Linked DNA regions of Homo sapiens: all the other regions are linked to region 2. Evidence: promoter capture Hi-C in 16 types of primary human blood cells and fetal thymus (Javierre and others, 2016). All regions are on one chromosome and are shown on one strand. The core of a region is centred on a gene start or on the middle of the fragment in contact, and the rest is flanking DNA. Distances in the headings are between cores, read along the strand shown.

Region 1 (3,389 bases), core at 203-2,702, 310 kb after region 2:
GTTCCAGGTGGAGGGTGGAAACCGAGATGGACAGTGGATGGTGTGTGTTAGTGATAGAATTACCTAAAGGTAGGAAATAAATGTGTCTCCAACTATCACGGTGAGAGTGTGAGGACAGCTTCCATGAAGATGGCTGAACGGAAAACAAAACATCTCCGGGAATCTAGTCTCAAGTTTCCCAGAAAATAAGATGCAGTGGGAAAATGAAAGGAAAGACGAGCCTCATATGCCAGGCAGCCAAGACCCACACAGGCCAACCCACATCCTTGCTGGGGGGAACACTGGGGTACCTGGCACCTGCTTCAGCAATGTGCACTGGTTCTCCAAGCGTGGACCCGGATCAGTAGAGAATTGCCTGAGAACTCATTAGGAAGGCAAAGTTTCAGTCCCCGACCCCAGACAAACTGCATGAGGGTGGGACCCAGCAGCTGTGTCTAGTAAGCCCTCCAGGTTGAGTCCGGTGGTTCCTAAAGTTTGAAAAACACATTTTTAGTGGATTTGGTACCTAGAACCCTAGTAACTGGGAGGACAATTTTGCACATGAGAAAATCAGGATCCATAAAAGTTGAGTTTCTTGCAAAAGCCATGAGGTCAGAATTGGATGGGTGGCCTACTACCCACCCCCAGCATGTCCTCTGGCCAGGCCCTGGAAATCTAAATCTAGGTCAAGATGATCCTTGGCCTTCAGGAGCTCCAACAGTCCCTAGAATGCACTGAAGGAGAACAGTGGCATCGTCAGAGCCTTGGCCTAGCAGAATCAGAGGCTGAACCAACCACCCAGGTGCACAATGCCCTGACCAGTAGGTGAGAAAGAGGCAGATGAGGATGCCATGTTTCTGCTGCAAAGGAAAGGCATGGGAAGGGCTTTCAGGCAATGGATTGACAAGCTACATTTCTCAAATTCAGCAAACCATTTGGAATGACACTAAGAATCCCAAAGGTTGACTATGCGGTGAAATACGTGTGAGAATCAGAAGGAAACAAAAAGTCACAGAACAGCTGCCATACGAAGAGATAAAAACAGGGTTGAGTGAAAAAGATAAATGATAGGAGGGATTGCTATTAGATATTTGAAGAAATACGAAGAGAACACCTCAATTCTTTGAAAAATACTAATTACCATCTGGCAAATCTTTGCTTTACTTCTACTTGCTGTATTGAGTCTCTGTCAAAAGAAAGAGCTGAGATACATGTTTCATCTACCCTAAGAAATTTCCGTCTAACACCAGAAGTTATCTACTTGGTACACAGCAGCTAGGCTGCCTGTCATGAGAATTTAAAAATTACATCTTTATTTGTAAAAATTCCCTTGCAATATCTATTAAAATCCAGAAGGCACTTTTTATTTATTTAGTTACTTATTTATATTTGGAGACAGGGTCTCACTCTGTCACCCAGGCTGGAGTGCAGTGGCACGATCTTGGCTCACTGCAACGTCCGCCTCCCAGGCTCAAGCGATCCTCCCGTCTCAGCCTCCCAGTTGCTGGGACCACAGGTGCATGCCATAACACCCGGCTAATTTTTGTATTTTTAGTAGAGATGGGTTTTCTCTACGTTGACTAGGCTGGTCTCAAACTCCTGGGCTCAAGCGATCTGCCTGCCTCAGCCTCAGGAAGGCACTTGTAGATAAGAAGATTACACTAGGTGAAGCACCTGAGTGATTGTGGGGGGGGGGGGGGTGCGGGGGTACAAAATGAATCCCCAGGTCACCCAGTATCACAGGGCCATTCACAGGGTAGAAGGGCCCCTGGCCTGAGACTAGCTTCCAAGATTTAAGGGACATATTTGTACTTTCAGAGTTTTTATTAGTGCCCGGAGTACTGGCTTATCTTTGCAAGTTTACTAGCAGGTGGAACACGAGGTAGCAGGATTATGATGGCAATGACCTTGAGCACTGCAAACATCCTGGGCATTTCTACTAGTCACTGCCATTCACCATCGTTCTCCCTGTGCCAATAACCTGGAGAGCCAGAAAATCTGAATCTGCCTTCCCAATGTCTTATCCACTCCAGGGATCTCAAACTCAAATGCCTTCCAGGGCCAAGCAGGAAACACAAATGAGAGAAGCATGCTGCATAGGAACCGAGATGATGTGCAGAGAACATGCCTGGCCCACCGTGGACGGCTCTGGCTACAGCTAACTGTGGTGGGCTGTTTGGGAAAGAAGATCCAGGCTACTATTAAAATTTACCTCCTGACTTGTTAAGAGAAACTGAAAGTCAGGACTTCTTTGCACAATCTCCTTTTTATGTTCCCAAGAAATTTAAAAACTTGTAAAGCATCATATGAGACAAACAAATCATGTCTGAGGACCACATCTGGCCCCCAGACCCAGACCACCAGAGTGCAAACTCCAGTCTAAATGATGCTGACGATTCAGACCCCTGAAAACACTCAAACGACTAAGTTTCATCTTGGTTTGAAGATCTCCATGGACTCGCTTGGCTTCGCGATCCAGTCACACATTCTCATCGGCACCACTCCCTGGCTCACTCGGTGAGTTAGCTGGAGGCCTGAAAATGCCTAGACAGCTCAGACTGTGTGAAATTCCATGCACAACAAAGCAGACCCATACAACTCCCAATCACAGACAGGAGAGGCCTGCCTTCCCACCCATGGACTTGGAGAGACAGTTGATCTGGTTCGTTCACTCAGCCTGGCCCCATGGGAGGCTGTGGCACCCATTCTATGGAGGAAACCGTGGCATTATCTGAAGTACAGCAGAGCCTGGGGTCTGCCCTGCCCCCACCAGGAGAGCTCCCTTCTGGCCTCGCCCACGAGGTGGGGTAGGGAAAGAGTTTCCATGCCAAATACTTCTAACACACGCAAGTAAACCCAGCAGATGGAAGAGACAATTCTGGATCCCTGACGCCTCCAGACTGCTGGCTTTGGTTGGGTCATCATGAAGAGAACAGCTGCTTCCTCAATCACGACTACCGCACAGAACAGAGGATTCTGTTTTGATGACTTCTATGCAAGATATAGAAACAAGAGGGGAGTTTCCTGCCTTTTATTTCAAAATAGCCCAGGACAAACGAAGACTTCTTGTACCATAACAACACATTCAAAGGGAAAGCTTGATGGAGTTGGTTTTCTTAAATGTCACCCCACAGTGAGCAACCTACTTCTCTGCCCACAGGCAGTGATAAAAATGTCATCAGGGAACCCATGCAGAGGAGCAAGAGATTTCTCTTTGAAACAGCAACATGTGCACAATTGGGGACAAAACTAGGTGGTGAGGAGAAACTGGCTTTGGAGCAGAGGGACCTGGATTTTCAAGCCAGGCTCTAGCCCATCACAAGCCACACTCTCTCAGGGACATGGCTGAAGCTCAGCTCCTGCCCAGCGGGGCTAGTCACCCCCAGCTGGCTGTGCAATGAGCAGACGAT
Region 2 (3,140 bases), core at 624-3,123:
AATGTTTGAGATTTGAAAGGTCCTCAAGAACTCACTAAAGGGCATAAAATATGCACACAAATAACTGTAATAAAGGCACGCTATGGGGATAATACATATTAAGACAGCTGCTTTGAGGGAAAAATGTCTTTTAAAAATGTTTACTATTTAAAGTTATACTGGATTTTTCTTTGGGGGGGGGATGCAAAACTAATCTTAAACACCATGAAAAACTGTAAACCCAAAACTATAAGCTTTTTTTTTTTTTTTTTTTTTTTTCGAGACGGAGTCTGTCGCCCAGGCTGGAGTGCAGTGGCACGATCTCAACTCACTGCAAGCTCTGCCTCCCGGGTTCAAGCAATTCTCCTGCCTCAGCCTCCCGAGTAGCTGGGATTACAGGCGCGCACCACGATGTCTGGCTAATTTTTGTATTTTTAGTAGAGAAAGGGTTTCACCATGTTGGCCAGGCTAGTCTCAAACTCCTGGCCTCAGGTGATCCGCCTGCCTGGGCCTCCCATAATACTGGGATTACACAGGTGTGAGCCACCGTGCCGGGCTAAAAATAAGCTTTTTAATTTAACGCTCGTTTTTATGAAAAGATTCATCTAAAGACAGAACCAGGATATTCTAATGAAAGGAGTCTATTGTTATTTCACATGGCTAAGAGCGATTGATTACAATCTAAAGAACAGTTCCGGGGTTAACTGAAAGAACTAGCTTATCCACAGAAACCCTTTCAATCCCAGAAGGAGAAATTTAGAATTTGGAAACTGAACATTAGTCATTTCTTAAGGTAAAGCCACTTCATTCCAAAGTCACTGTCTGTTCGCCCTTAATTTATCACCGTAATTTATCTAAGAGGTAAAACTGAACACCGAAAAGGTAAGATGTAGAGTGACAAAAGGAGACGGTGGGTCACAGGGCGAGTGCCCAGGTGACTTCGGGCCTCAGTCCTCTCGCCAGCAAAGGGCGGACAATGACCCCTCCCGTCCCGCCCGGGAAGGCGATCGAGGAAACGCACTGGCCAGGCCCATTTACTGATGCTCAGCAGGGTTTGCAAAAAGCCCCCAACGGGAGGTTTTCATGCTGAAAGTCCTGTTGCCCCCCCATCCCCCACCATCTAATTAACCTGCACGTTACTGTAAGGAAGGTTCTGCTTCCGTAATTTTCTTTATTTCGACAGAGGCTGGAGAAAAAAAATCATAGGCTGGAAGAGGGGAGCGATGGGCAGGCCGATCTGCAGGGCGCAGGAGCAGGCCGGGAGGACCCAGCCCTCCAAGGCTGCATCAGCGCCCCCGCCGCGTGACCAGGGCCACCGGTTTACTGCACAGCTCCCCCGTCCCCAGAACGCAGCCTCCCCGCCAACCCCAGGAACCAAGGGTGCCCAAAGGCCTCCTACCCGGAACCCCGGGGCGCCTCGGGGTCTCTGGGCCGGGTGGGCCGAGTCCTGGCCTCCACAGGCCGCGAGCGCAGGGGGCGGCGGCTCCGCCCGGTCTGGCAGGCGGGGCTGCCACATCCTCAGCCTCTCCCTGCCGCCCGCCCGTCGGCCGCTCTGGGCTGGAACCAGGACTCCGGCCTGCAAGCCGTGGGTCGCCACGCCCCTGCCCCCTGAAGCTGCGCGCCGGCCGGAGACTCCAGGGCGCCCGGGTCCGAGCCGCCCGCAGAGTAAACGGGCCGCTGAAGCGGGGCTCGTTCCCCGGCCGAGGCCCAGCGCGCCCCCTCAGCCAGCATCCCCCGAACCCGGGCCGCGGCCACCCCGCGCCCGCCCGCCTCCCCCGCCGCTGTCAGGGAACCCCGGCCAGGGCCCGAACCAGAGCCCCAGGACAGCGGCGCCCAGACGGTACCTGACAGCGCCTGAGGACAACCGGGTACACGCGGCGTCTATGAAGCGCAACAGTGACGCCGGAGAGTCACTGCAACTTAAAGGCTGATTCTGCCCCGCCCCCAAGACACCCTCGCCGCTCATTGGCTGGGGCGGAGGGCAGGATACCAATCGCGTGGGTCCCGTCCTCCGCCCCGCCCTCCGGCCGCGCATCAAGGATCTTTGCTCCTCCCGCGGATTCGATCCGCGCTCGCGCCTCCTGAGCCCGCCGGCCTGTACCTGAGCTCAGGCCCCTCGGTCGCCTCCTCTGGCGGGACGAGAAGAGTCCTTGTCCGCCCTTGCTGACGAGAAGACTGAGGCCCGAAAAGGAAAAGTCTGTTGGGCCCCCCACTGCGCGGGCCGGGTGTGGCTGGAGGCCGAGAGACGTGAGGCTGGACCGCCCGCCCTGTGCTCCTGGAGGGAGGGACCAGCCCCAGCTCTGCCCCAGCCACAGCTGCGGGAGCCCCATGCCCTTGAACCCTGATGCGCCGCGCGGCTTAGTTGTGCCTCTGAATCCACCTCCAAAAGTCGTCGCTGCCTATGGAAAACACACTGCCCACCTGTTCGCAGCTGCTGTCAGATAATTGAGTGGCAGCAACCCACTCACAGTACAGATTTGCCTGTGGTGCCCTCCACAGCCGGTTATTAAATTCAGAACACAAAATAGATATTCCGGGACAACCTCATGTTAGAATCGGAAGGGACTTGGACTTCACTTAGCCCACAACAAGATGTTAAATATTGGAAAACAGAGACCCAGAGAAGGAAAGCGACTTACCCAGTCATCCAACAGTAGGGGCAGTCTGGTCCTGTGTGCCCCTCGCCACCCCTCTCAGAGGGCAGGCGCTGGCAGCTGCCGGCACCACACTCCATTAGACCACAATGACCAGTCGGGGGCCCAGCTGGAAACAGAGGGCACACTCCAATGTGAACATTTCCTAAAACGTGGTGGTGGGGGCCCGTGGTTCATGCCTGTAATCCCAGCACTTTGGCAGACCGAGGCAGGAGGATTGCTTGATCCCAGGAGTTCCAGACCAGCCTGGGCGACACAGTGAGACCCCGTCTCCACAAAAAAAAATAAAAATTAATCTGGTGTGGTGGCACACCTATGTTCCCAGCTACTCCAAAGGCTGAGGTGGGAGGATCACTTGAGCCCAGGAGGTTGAGGCTGCAGTGACCTATGACTGCACCACTGCACTCCAGCCTGGGCAACAAAGCAAGACCATCTATCTTAATCAACCAATCAATCAATCAATGTAGGCAAGTAAACCACAAGGGATGGAGAAATAACCTGGGTCTC
Region 3 (3,336 bases), core at 474-2,973, 330 kb before region 2:
TCCTCTATACCCGCCGTCCCAGCCGCGCCGGCCGGCCCCGGGCGCAGGGCGGGCGGGAACGTGGGCACCCGGACAGCGACGGGGAGGTCAAGCAGCTGTGCCCAGGACCCGGGCGGCTCCGAAGCCTCAACACGCACACACTCGCGCGCACGCCGGCCCATCGGTTGCCTGGAGGAGTCGGGAAGGTGCTTCCACGGCTCTTCATTCATTTTCCCAAAGGCAAGGTTCCCTTCGCCCCGGCGCCTCTATCCTGCCATCCCAGGGGGCCAATTGCGCCACAGCCCGCCACCCAGCCACCCACAGCCACCGCGTCCTATCTCCCGGCACACACAACCCAACAGACTCGCATTACATCTCCACCGCCAGCGTCGCCTCCGCGCCCCGGCCGCTGCCATCCGGCTCCCCAGCTTCGCCGCCCCGCAGCCCCGGCTCCCCGCCTCTGGCCTCACCGCGCGGCTCAGAGCTGCCTCGCTCGGCTCGCCGCACCAAGGCCGGCCAGAGACGCCGCCACCGCCGGGAAGCGCCGGCAACTCCCGAGTCACGCCGCCTCCCGAGACGCGGCGGGGCGCAGGGAGGGGACAGCAGTGGGGGCGGGGCGGGGAGGAGGAAGGAGGAGGGGGCGGGGAGCAAAAGTTCACACCGCTCGGGGCTCAGCCGCTCCCCTATCTCTTCCCAGGCCCGCCCCCGCCATCCCCCTTCCCTGAACCGGGTCCCACGGGCTTAGGCGCGGGAGAGCTCTGGCCTCCCCGCCCGGAACCGCCGCAAGGCTAGAGCCAGGGTTCTGGAAGCGCATCCGAGCTCGCAACCGGGGAGAGAGTGGCGGATGCCCACTTACCTGCCCCGGGCCGCGCCTGGAAACTTCCCCAAAGTGCGATAGGGGTGTGGGGGCGGAGCGCAAGGCTGGGGGGAATCCCCGTCCCCTACCGCCAAACGACGCGCGCTCACACCGTGAAAGCACTGGTCTGTCCGTCGGTCGGTCCCCCGCCTGCGGCTCCCAGAGCTGGGCGGTGCAGGGGCGCCCCGATTCCGACTACTGGGCTCCTTCTCCCGGACAGCCCGCCGGTGCGTTCCACGCGGCTTGCGCCCCCCGCCGGCCTCCGGCTATCCACGGCGCCACCACGCCACTGCTCGGTCCCCTGTCCCCTCGCTCCGGCCGCGTCCTCTCTGCGAGGGAGGGGGCGTGTGTCGCCGCTGGGTAACCCTTCCCGCGGGGTCCTCAAGCGCGCAGGGCGCCCGGAGCGCGGCCAGGACCAATGGCGAAGGGACTCCTCCCGCTGGGGATCGCTGAAGCCTCGGGGAGGCCGGGCCAAGGAGCCCGGGGCCCAAACCTGCCTCGGCTCGTCGAGCTCGCAAGTTCATTGTCTGCCTGGGCCGCCGCCGCCACCGCCACCGCCACCACCGCGCCGGGAGCGCCGCGGGGAGTGAGGCTGCGCGCCGCCTCCGCCGGCCCGGACTCCCTACGCCCAGCCCCGGCCGCCGCCGGCGCTGCCTGGCCCGAACCCGCGGAGGGGCGCCGGAGCCCCGAGCCCAGGGCCAGACCTCCTACCGCCGCTCCTCGCCGACCCCACCTCGGCGTCTGGCACCTAACTTGTACCTGAGAAGCCTGAGTCCAGCCCGGGAGCCTCTGCGGCTCCGGCTCCGCGGGAGCGCGCCCAGCCCCGAGCCTCTAGCCCCGCATCCAGGGCGCGTCAACCTGACTCCCCGAGCGCTGGGAGGAAAAGTTTGGGAGTGACGTGCAGACGGCGAATGAAACATCCGAGGAGAACCCTCCCCCCGCCCCATGTCGCGCTGACACACATCAGCTCCAGTCTGGAATGTGAGATCAAGGCGTGTGCGCCGAGCGGTGGGTTTGGCCCCTGCCCCCTCCCCCTCCGAGTCAACACTGCTTGTGTGTTGCGGTGATTCCAAATAAAAGCACATCGAAACCCCTGAAATCTGGCAGTGACACCTTGCCAGATACTTCTTTTTTTTAAAGACAGAGTTTCGCTCTTGTTGCCCAGGCTGGAATGCAATGGCGCGATCTCGGCTCACTGCAACTTCCGCCTCCCGGGTTCAAGAGAGTCTCCTGCCTCAGCCTCCCGGGTTCAAGAGAGTCTCCTGCCTCAGCCTCCCGAGTAGCCGGGATTACAGGCATGCGCCACCACGCAAAATAGGCTAATTTTATATTTTTAGTACAGACGGGGTTTCTCCATGTTGGTCAGGCTGGTCTCGAACTCCCGACCTCAGATGATCCGTCCGCCCCCCCAACCCAAAGTGCTGGGATTACAGGCGTAAGCCACCGCGCCCGGCCGCCAGAGACATCTTTAAGGAACTTGGCGGTCTGGAGCCAGCCCGTACATTAATATTCAAGGCCACAGCGCTGGTGAGTTCGGCGCCCTCTGTTGTATTTTTGCATCCCGGGAAGGCTGGCCCGGCTCTTTGGCCCGGCGTGTTTTGCTTCCGCGGGGGAGGTAAAGCTCTGCAGGACCCCGATCGCCACGGCCTGCCGCAGTGGCCTGGAGTCGGCTGCCCCAGGGAACCACCTGGACAGCCCGAGGGCAAGAAAGCGGCACCAGTGGCCGACTCCACTGACTCTGGGCTGAAGATGCCATCAGTTAAAGAAAAGACACATGAAATTCTGGCAGATTCGCTCAGAGGGCGCTTGGAGCACCAAGCCCAGCCTCTCAGGAAACTGAGGTCCAAGGGACAAAAAGAATCTGCAGTCTCTTGCCGGCCTGTGTCCCCGTGGCCAGAGTCCAGCACCCTCTTCCTCGAAGCAACCAGAAGTGGAAATGAAAGTGCTCCGTTAACTGTAGACTACATGCCACCGAAGGGTCATTCCTGACAGTGGCTTCTCCCCATTATCTCTTTATTGCCGGAGGCTTCATCTCGCCCCCCTGAAGCTACAGTCCACCCTGAGGTCATAAACTTCTGCTCAGCACCCATGGCAACTAATGCAGAGGTCACCATCAGAGGATTATAACTGCAGATGGGAAACCGGGATGAGAGGGGAGTTCTTTAAAATCCTGTCTTGTTTTCCTGCAAATAATGCCTCTTACATAAAATCTGCGAAGAAAGATGAATGCAGCAAAGAGACTTGCCTTAGAATCTCAGACTAGATTGCTTTTTCCATATAGACTCCACTTAGTGATTTTTGTTCTTTATTTTTTTTTTAAACAAAAACCTATTTCTGAAAATACAACGAGCTGCTTTTTGCAGGGTTCACAATTCCCAATAGATGATGATGCCATTTTTCAAGGTCTCACACACGTTGTGGCTTTGGGGCTTATTTATTAGCTCCCAAGAAAAGCCTGCCTTTCAGTGAGGTTTATATACTCGAGTAATTGCATCAGGGGA

Evidence for each region. The method cuts DNA at HindIII sites, captures the fragments that hold promoters and counts their contacts. A CHiCAGO score of 5 or more calls a contact.
Region 1: a contact is called between a fragment that was not itself captured here and the fragment with the promoter of OAT in region 2, in 1 of 17 cell types (naive CD4 T cells). The highest score is 5.3, in naive CD4 T cells.
Region 3: the fragment with the promoter of CHST15 here is called in contact with the fragment with the promoter of OAT in region 2 in 1 of 17 cell types (monocytes); the score reaches 5.2 in monocytes.

Annotation. Positions count from the first base shown.
Region 1 is chr10:124,725,666-124,729,054 of GRCh38, forward strand. All of the region lies in intron 1 of FAM53B (family with sequence similarity 53 member B), which reads right to left. Among named protein-coding and RNA genes, the nearest start is that of FAM53B, 17 kb to the right of the region's middle. RefSeq lists an enhancer at 2,839-2,978. The HindIII fragment of the contact is 3,243 bases long and covers 1-3,074 here.
Region 2 is chr10:124,417,050-124,420,189 of GRCh38, forward strand. OAT (ornithine aminotransferase) reads right to left here and starts at 1,874. Exons shown (of 10, transcript NM_000274.4): 1 at 1,824-1,874. RefSeq lists silencers at 1,434-1,973, 1,916-2,575 and an enhancer at 2,549-3,063. The HindIII fragment of the contact is 6,386 bases long and covers 545-3,140 here.
Region 3 is chr10:124,091,875-124,095,210 of GRCh38, forward strand. It overlaps CHST15 (carbohydrate sulfotransferase 15), which reads right to left and starts at 1,724. Exons shown (of 8, transcript NM_001270764.2): 1 at 1,595-1,724. The HindIII fragment of the contact is 12,111 bases long and covers 1-3,336 here.